Regions from separate parts of the Homo sapiens genome. Here regions 1 and 3 are each linked to region 2. The links are contacts of gene promoters, found by promoter capture Hi-C in blood cells and fetal thymus (Javierre and others, 2016). All regions are on one chromosome and are shown on one strand. The core of a region is centred on a gene start or on the middle of the fragment in contact, and the rest is flanking DNA. Distances in the headings are between cores, read along the strand shown. Region 1 holds the start of KRTAP20-1 (keratin associated protein 20-1). Region 2 holds the start of KRTAP23-1 (keratin associated protein 23-1). Region 3 holds the start of KRTAP21-3 (keratin associated protein 21-3).

The links. The method cuts DNA at HindIII sites, captures the fragments that hold promoters and counts their contacts. A CHiCAGO score of 5 or more calls a contact.
Region 1: a contact is called between the fragment with the promoter of KRTAP20-1 here and the fragment with the promoter of KRTAP23-1 in region 2, in 5 of 17 cell types (naive CD8 T cells, M1 macrophages, M2 macrophages and 2 more). The highest score is 6.5, in naive CD8 T cells.
Region 3: the fragment with the promoter of KRTAP21-3 here is called in contact with the fragment with the promoter of KRTAP23-1 in region 2 in 3 of 17 cell types (erythroblasts, endothelial precursors and naive B cells); the score reaches 7.9 in erythroblasts.

What each region holds. Positions count from the first base shown.
Region 1 is chr21:30,614,931-30,617,757 of GRCh38, reverse strand. It overlaps KRTAP20-1 (keratin associated protein 20-1), which reads right to left and starts at 1,333. Exons shown (of 1, transcript NM_181615.2): 1 at 1,059-1,333. The coding sequence starts at 1,303. The coding sequence ends at 1,133. The HindIII fragment of the contact is 4,063 bases long and covers 1-2,547 here.
Region 2 is chr21:30,347,137-30,350,373 of GRCh38, reverse strand. KRTAP23-1 (keratin associated protein 23-1) reads left to right here and starts at 1,768. Exons shown (of 1, transcript NM_181624.1): 1 at 1,768-1,975. The coding sequence starts at 1,768. The coding sequence ends at 1,965. The HindIII fragment of the contact is 4,066 bases long and covers 1,052-3,237 here.
Region 3 is chr21:30,717,005-30,720,070 of GRCh38, reverse strand. KRTAP21-3 (keratin associated protein 21-3) reads left to right here and starts at 1,294. Exons shown (of 1, transcript NM_001164435.1): 1 at 1,294-1,546. The coding sequence starts at 1,312. The coding sequence ends at 1,488. All of the region lies in intron 2 of LOC105372773 (a long non-coding RNA gene), which reads left to right. The HindIII fragment of the contact is 10,011 bases long and covers 1,169-3,066 here.

The sequences.
Region 1 (2,827 bases), core at 84-2,583, 270 kb before region 2:
ATTCATTTTATTCTAATTACTGGAAAAGATATATTGTTTGCTGTATTCATTAAATCATGATACAAACTTTTAATCCCATTATCTAGTTGTATAACTTGTTTTTTAAATTTCCCTAATATAGTTTCCTTAATGTCAATAGTTTATTTTTACAGATTAATTGAGAAGTTTGATTTTCATACCATGTGGTAAAAATTCACTAAAACTCTTCCGTTTGGAAAAAATGTAAAACCCAATTAGAATATTCTAATAGTACACAAATACCAGTTTTATAAAGTATACAACTAGATAAAATTTAGTAATATTACAACAGAAATAATCTTGAATATTCATGAAAAGATGCTCTCTCCCAATATAGCAGCATGCCTAGAATACTTTAGGAGCTGTTGCATGAATGCAATGAAATATGAAATGAACTTCATTATCAAAATCGCCTATCATAAAGAGATTTCCTATAAAGACATCCAGGTTCCCAGACATGGCACAGCACTTCCTGTATACAGGATCTATATCAACAACATCAGGCAACTGAGAGGCTTCATAGTGATGAAGCTACCAGAAGGCAGACAACTTGGAAAACTCATGGAAGCCACAACTTAAAATGTGTATGTGTTTCTATGTGCTCTGGAGAAACAAGGACAGTCAGCAGCATGCAGCCACCAGCCTTAGGTGTGTAGCTTGTCAAGCTCAAGTAGAAATTATTTGAAGAGAAAGCAATCAACTGTGTCCCTACAGAAGCTCAGTTTTAAATAGTGTGAGAAATATACAGAAGGACAAAAAATAGGAAAATGAAATAAGATGTAGTGTCAACCCCTTGGGATAGTAATTATCCACAGGTTTCCATCTTACCATCATCCACATGCAAAGTTGACAATGAAAATAATAAACATGAAAACACACTATATTTGCAAACAGACTAAATTTATTTAAAGGACTTAAGAATCAAAGAATTGCATTTTAAAACCTATTCTTTATCATCTTGCACAACAGAACCAGAGAAAGACAGCATCTGTAGTTCTTTGATAATAGCCTAGTTTAGGTTTCTGCTGTTTTGAAGACACAGGATCAGATGAACAAGAGCAGCATGAGAATCCAGGTTTCACAAGCAGACAAATCTGGTGAGCTCTAGAATTGTTCAGTAGAAACCATATGACCAATATCTTCCATAGCAAGATGGGCAGTAGTAGCCATTTCCATAGCCTCCATAGCCACCATAACCACATCCATAGCCACGATAACCACAGCCATAGCCACAGCCAAGCCCACCATACCCATAGCCACCATAATAGTTGCTGTAGTAAATCATGGTGTCAGAAATGGATGGTTCAGGTGTAGAAGAGGATGTTCTTGAATTTGAACATCTCCATCTTCACAGGTCTTTTATACTTCCTCAGTAGTAGGTGTGGCAAATCACAGGCAATGTTGCTCTTATTATGAATTATTTTGGGTTGACCGCTAACACCGCCAAGGCAACACTCTCATAAATCTCTTATTTCATTAGGCATAGTGAAGCCTTCATAGCTAGGATTCCTCTAGTGTTGTGTCAAGATTTTCACAATCAAAGAATGTGATTTGAATGACAGATTTTTTTTAACCTGGTTTTAACATCCTTTTTTCCTGAGAGCACATACTAAAATTTCATGATGAGATTCTATGAAATAACAGAAACTATGCAAATCTCATCTGATTCAAATTGGTTTTGGCTTGTTAATTCCTTTACATTCATCTACCAGTTGCAGTTGAAGAAGTCTGTCTGCATGGCTTTGGGGAGACAGATGTGCCTAAGGGGCAAGTCTTTCGAGTATGAGATCTGTAATATTGCCCAATATTTCTTCAGAGATAGAACAGTTTATTTCACTTTAAATACATAAGTCAGGTAACATTTTTACAGGATACAACTTTACAAACGTACAAATGCACTTTATTTTACTGTTATACCAAATTCTATCTTGATTCATTATTTCCACTAAATGGCAAAACATTTATTCTTGTCCCTTTCAGGTAAACTCAACAAAATTCAATCACTTTCTGGTTGTCAGTATTAAAATACAATTGCAATAAAGACATTACCACTCCTCATTCTCTGCCTGAGGTGTGCTTCGATGTGCAGTGATATGCTGTTGGTTTTGAGGAGGACCATACCTGTTCTGCACTGACACCTTTGGATGGCATAACACATATTGCCATTTTCCACTGCCACAAAAATAAAACTCTGTTCAATCCATTACCTAGCATGAAGTGTTACATCCTTGGGTCTCTACAGCCAGAACAGTCTTTGGTTGTAGTAAGGAAATCAATGAGTCTCCACTCAGATCCACCTGGGTGAGAACCAATCATTGTATCTCCCCCTGCTTGTGCTATGTGTGTTGGGGAACTTGGTAGGACTTTCCCCTTCTCAGTAAAACCAGGATGTGACTTTCTCTGTTGTTAGATGTACATCCTCAATGCAGAGTTTCTCTTCCCTTCAGCTTCAAGGACATAATGCCCCTAAATGAGAACTTAAGCATGCCTGAGTTCTCTTATTCAATTGATCAACTCTCTACTGAAGCTTCTATCCAGAAAAACAGGGATGGGATGAAATAAGTAAAGACAGCAAAATTTATTCTAGTATTCTGGTTCCTACTATGAACCAAACACTATTCAAAGTGTCTGGTATGTATCAAAAGATTTGATTTTCTAAATTTCCTTGTGGGGTAGGTATCATTATTACAATCCCATTTGCAGATAGGGCAGCTGAAGCATGTAGTTAACAGTGGTCAGACAGCTATGGATAGTAGAGGTAAAATTTGAGCCTAGAAAGCACATTACAGATATTTTACTCTTATTTACT
Region 2 (3,237 bases), core at 519-3,018:
GGTAAAGACAGCTGTTGCTAGGTAACTGTCCTGGAACCTATTTATCTGGAATAGTGCAATTTGAAGAAGGTCTTGTGATAACCCTTGTTACAGGCATGTGTGCACGAGGATTTTTTTTGTGGCCTCTCTTGACCCCATTTTGTTAGAGTTTGACATAAATGACTCCATTTTGGTACATCTTTCACAAAGGGATTTGGTGCAATGTGAGCAATGCATTTGGTAGAAATTTGTTAGCAAAACAATGGACAAAATATTCCATTGTTGCCAGATAAGCAAATATTACAGGAGATTACAAAAAACAATCATCTATGAAACAGTTTGAAAAGATCAAATTACATAAATAGCTTTTTGCTTTCCAATTTCTAAAAGATGCTTGAAGGCAGAAGTTGGATATGATAACAAGTGGGGAAAAAGACATTTCTAATTCCAAGATTTTTCTTTATACCACTGATGTTTTATAGTGGTAAAGATAATTTTAACCACTTAATATAATGGTAAATTTTATGCTGCTTTGTCTTCCTAGAAGGATGAACAAGAGAAGCTCAGCAAGGAGTGAAATGAATCACTCTGGAAGGTGTCGTATTTCTCACTCCCAACTGAGTTGGCAAAAGGTCGGCACCCTATTAAAATTCAAGCTTCTGCAAATGTATTTTATTGGTAGTCAACTCACTAAAGGCATATCAGTTTTTCGCAACTAGTCCCAGTGAAAGTCTGTGTTTGCCAAAGAATTTTCTGCCTCACACTGAAAAAGAATCTAATAACTCCATGGTGGATAAAACATGAGTTGCTTAACTAGGATAAACTGAGTGAGAGGGCAAATAGAAGATAATTTGTAACAAAGCATCTCCATAGTAACTCTGAATACTAAAAAAATAACCAAAATCAATTAAGAAGCTGTCCCCTCAGTTGGCTATATTTGGGGAATTCATAAAAGGGGTAAGAATACTCAAGTAGATATATCAGATGAAATGCAAATATTAACACCTTGGAATTTTTTTTTCACCTGCATACTCAATTGTCCATGTGATTCTGGGAGCAGAAATTACAAGCTTCACAAATTGTCTATATAGCTCTGTGGTTTGTGCTAGCCTTAAAGACAGACACACCTGGGATGACATGGGGTCCATGATTTGTTTGATTTATTACCTGAATGTTACATAACTTTTCCAAACCTCCATGGCCTTACTTCTAAATTGTTTATGACAACTTGTATCTCATAAGATATTTGCAAAGATTAAATCATACCACACTTTTAAATGTTGCGCATGTAGTTAATGCTTAATAAAACATATGTAAATAATGGGGGGTGGGTGGCTGCTGATTACTGTTGGGAGTACATTGCTGGTAAGAATTTGTAGGCTGAAGCTCAGAATACCCACAGTCAAGCTCAGTAAAAGGGGTGGGGAGGCACTGTATGTATCATCACCAATGTTTCTGAAAGCAAACCAAACCTTATTTCTGCAGAGAGAGAGAGAGAGAGAGAGAGAGAGAAAGAGACAGAGAGAGAGAGAGAGAGAAGCCAATGGGCTTCTATAAACTGGAATGATTACACTGCTGTTAAAGACAAATGAATGTGTTGAGTTATAATTATAACCTAGGTTACTTAGTCATTTGATGAAAACACATTCACAAGAATGGGGGGGTTCCCGGATACTGCATCACGCCCAGCAGTGTGAGGGTGTAAACATCACTGGATCATTGGGCACAGGCAGGGACATCAGGGCATCTTCTCAATGCAGCTCAGCTGAACTCACATCTCCTGTCAACATGTCCTACAACTGCTGCTGTGGAAACTTCTCCTCCCATTCCTGTGAGGGCTACCTGTGCTACTCAGGCTACTCCCGTGGTGGCTCCTCGTACCCCAGCAACCTGGTCTACAGCACTGAACCTTTGATCTCCCAGCACCTGCCAGCTGGGTTCCTCTCTCTGCAAGGGCTTTCAGGAGACTTGCTGGGAAACCCCTAGCTGCCAGATGTCCTGTGTGGAGTCCAGCCCCTGCCAGACCTCCTGCTACCGCCCCAGAAGCTCCGTGCTCTGCAGTCCCTGCCAGTCGACTTACTCTGAGTCTCTAGGCTTTGGATCCAGCAGCTGCCGCTCCCTGGGCTATGGATCTAGGAGCTGCTACTCAGTGGGCCGTGGGTCCAGTGGCGTCAGATCCCTGGGTTATGGAGGCTGTGGCTTCCCTTCCCTGGGCTATGGATCTGGATTCTGCCACCCAACATATGTTCTCTTTAGGACATTCCAGTCTTCCTGTTACAGACCAACTTGTGGATCTGGCTTCTACCGATCAACTTGCTAAGGGCTCCAAACCTCCACATTACAATTATTTCTCTCAAAGTCCATCTCAGCTATCATCTGGCTAGAACCTATATTCTACTATCCAGAAAAGATAATTGTTTTAAACTTATTAATATTAAAATAACATTTCTCATAGAATACTCATCTCTTTTTCTTCTGTTTTCTTGTATTTTCCCTTCCTTCTCTAGTTAAAAATGGAGCAAGAGTTGATTTCTTTTTCTTCAAATAAACTCATTTAATCTGATATCAGATCACAAATCTTGTGTTAATTTTCTTTATAAGATGTCTGTCGGGAATTTGAAACCCCCACTTTTTGTCTAAAAATAAAATATTCACTTTGAGGGAAAGGAGTAGGTTCCTTGATAGGCAGAGTTTTCTAACAACAGAGATCTAGTTCCTGGGAATTTCTGCCAAGTAGACTCAGAGATAGGACAGGAGATTATCTCTGTTTTTCTATTCATGGCCATTTAGGCCTAATCAGGACACTTCACTTTGGTTAAGCTACTCATGGGTCTAGTCTAGGAAGAAAATATCCAGAGACAGCAGTGATGTTTTAGCAAGTACTAGCCTGGCTGTTTTTATGAGAACATTATCAAAATCCTTCCTGTAATCTTCCTTCCCAGACATATATAAGCCACAATGAAATTCTGAGGTCAGGATTTTAACTGAGTTCAGTAGCAAGTGTAATGAAACAAATAGTTTAGGTATACATGAAATTAAAGATGTATGCATTCCACTATAATAAGAAGAATATAATATCTAAGAGTTTTTTTTTTTTTAATTTGATGGTTCACTCCCTCCTCCTTTCATTAGGTCACTATAAAGCCATCCGGTGTTATAATAGAAGTCACCTGAAAACTGTCTGAAACCTGGCAGTATCATGCATAGGTGACACGGACTGAGAGATAAGACTTTACCTCTTGATATCCTGGGCTTGTA
Region 3 (3,066 bases), core at 45-2,544, 370 kb before region 2:
TGGCTAGTGCTCAAGGAAAGATCTTTGCTCAAGAGAATAATTTAGCAAATAATGGTTTCGAAGAAATAGGACATTACTAAGTACACTGGATAAATGGTTGTGATTTCTGTATCTCAAAATATTGAGCTGATTATGCCATTAATTTGCTCAAAATCTTCTCTGGTTCTCCATTACCTTTAGAATGAATTCCACACTTTTTACCTTAATATTCAAAGCTCTTTATTATTTGGCCCCAGTTTATTATACTTTTTTAAAATCTATTTTATTCCCTAAAGAAAAAAAGAAATTCCTGCCTTCACAGATATCCTATATTCCAGTGAGAAAAACAGTCAACAAAATTAGTAAAATGCAAGTCTATCATATGGTGATAAATGGCTTGATAAATGCTAAGTAGAGAATAAAGATATATCTGTGGGAGGGTGCTAGCTATAAATAATACTGTTCAGGGAGGGCCTCCTTGAGTGACATTTGAACACACTCTGATGGCAATGAGGGAATGAGTCATAGATATGGGTGTTAAATTGTAAAAACTGCAGGTGAAAGCCCAGCATGGATGAAGGCCCTAAGTGGACCTGGTCTGGATTGTTTTGAGGTCTATTTCATAGGATTTCTCTTTCCTTTTTCTCTAACCGCATCAATCTGAGACTTTTTTTGTGTAAATGTTTCTCTTCCTTACTAAGCTGGGAGTTCATTGAAGGTCTGTTCTTGGTCTTATTTATGTTTTTCATTTTTATTTTTATGTTATTTTCAGCAGTGCCTACTGTCATGTTCTGTTTTTTAGGAAAGTTCTCAATAAATTCTAATATTATAGAATTGAACGCATGTTTCTCAATTTAGCCTTCCTATGCCTATCCTCTCCTGAGTAGTACAGTTGTGGATTGGATGGTAATACTGGTGGCACCTGAAAAGGTAGGAATCACTAAGCCCCTTCCTTTCTCTAGGAGGCTGGGGATGGGGATTCTCAATGTTTTGGGTTAGAGCTGAGGGAAGTACTTCCCTGCAAGATTTAGCATCATGATATTTGTGGAGTGTACATTTGGGGCTCACTGAGAACATGTATACAGAGTGTACAAATTACTTTTTACAGTCTATGATTAACTTGCAGGAATTAAATGAAGGTCTAAAATGAGAGGCTTTCTTAGGACACAGAATAAAACAACAACAAGCTTGTTAAATATAAATTCTTGTGGGAATGAGAAGGCAAAGTAGGGATGGCACACACTTTGCAGACCTCTTATTATATAGAAAGATCCCAAGGGTTCCAAACTCCAGAAATGCTGTTACCTGGCTGAATTCTCATCTCCTGACACTATGTATTTCAATTACAAAAGTGTGTGTGGGAGCTGTGGATTTGGCTCTTGCTATGGTTGTGGGTATGGCTGTATACACAGCACCCACTGTGGCTGTAACGGTTATTATGGTTGTTATGAAAATAAATATTCTGTTATAGATGATCTGATATTTTTTGCTTCTAAGAAATGCCATTGAGCATTGTTTCTTATTTAGTTTCTCAAAGATCTGTTCTGCTTTAATCACCTTCAATCCTGATAGTTCTCCGTTAGAGAAAAATGACTCATCTGGTGAAAACTCCATTTGTCTTCAAAGTACCTGTTAGTCATAGACATAATGTGGTTTCACTGAGAGATGGAAAATATGACTATTTTGAAATTTTGAAAAATATAAAATGCTCTTTGTGTGCGTGTGTGAGTCAACACCAATTTGGGGCATGTTTTACCCCCTTGAAAGCCAGACCACTATGTAGATTAGTTGATCCTTAGCTTCTTAGAAATTTCTTCTTAACTTTCAATAACTCTTTTTCTCTTTATCTTTTCTACTCTACATAAAACTTGAGTTATTTAATTGTCAGTATCCACCACATATTTAATATTAAATAAATATGTACCTGTTAATTAGATATACTTCTAAATATACAAAATGAAGAAAGGAAGTGGAATGATATCATCCTTAGTGTAGAATAGTAGATTATTATCAGCCAAAGAAAAGGGAGGAGGAGAGAGAATCACTGAAACATTTTTTTTTTTTTTCGAGATGGAGTCTCGCTCTGTCACCCAGGCTGGAGTGCAGTGGCGCGATCTTGGCTCACTGCAACCTCCGCCTCCCAGGTTCAAGTGATTCTCCTGCTTCAGCCTCCCAAGTAGCTGGGATTGAGGCACCCGCCACCGCGCCTGGCTAATTTTTGTATTTTTAGTAGAGACGGGGTTTCACCATGTTGGCCAGGCTGGTCTCGAACTCCTGACCTTATAATCCACCCGCCTTGGCTACACACACACACACACACACACACACACGAACACAATGATTCTAATTCTAATTCCGTCGGCCTTTTCTCAAACATTCTCATAGACAGTTCTGTCACTTTTTTTGGGATTCTGGTTAATATGAACTCCTTAGGAGACTTTGCCTAACATTCCACTTGAAATAGAAATGACATTCTTACACTATTTCCCTGTTCATCACCTTGCATCTACTTCTCCTCTTCCTCCTCTTCTCCCTTCTCCTCCTCCTTCTACTTCTCCTCATATCTTTCTCTCTCTCAAAATCAAAGTCAAAAATCAGTTGTTTTTTTCTTCAGTTATATTTGTTACATAATTATAAAATTATTTAAGAAAGCCCGGTGACAGAGTGAGACTCATCTAAAAAAAAAAAAAATTCCTGACTCCATTCCTGTGGTGGCGAAGGAATTGCTCTATGAGACTGCTATGTATGATAAAGTGAGTCTAGGACTATTTATATGGGGATATCAAACAATTCTCCTCTATGGCAAAGTGTAGTCACAACATTTCTCTTTCTTAAAAAGCACAGGCTTTGGGGCAACAGAGAGTGACATTAGATGCCAATGTTCCCATTCCTAGCTGTGCATGTGTCAGAAAACTTCTTAATCTTCATATTTCATAAGTCTCCTCTTCCATTCAAACAAAAAGGTTATAAACACTGATGTCAGAGGACTGTTGCCATAGTTAATGAGATAGTATACTTAGCATGTAGCATGATACGTAATAATAGGATTTTGTTTTTGTTGGCAAATGACTCCTTATGTATGTTGTT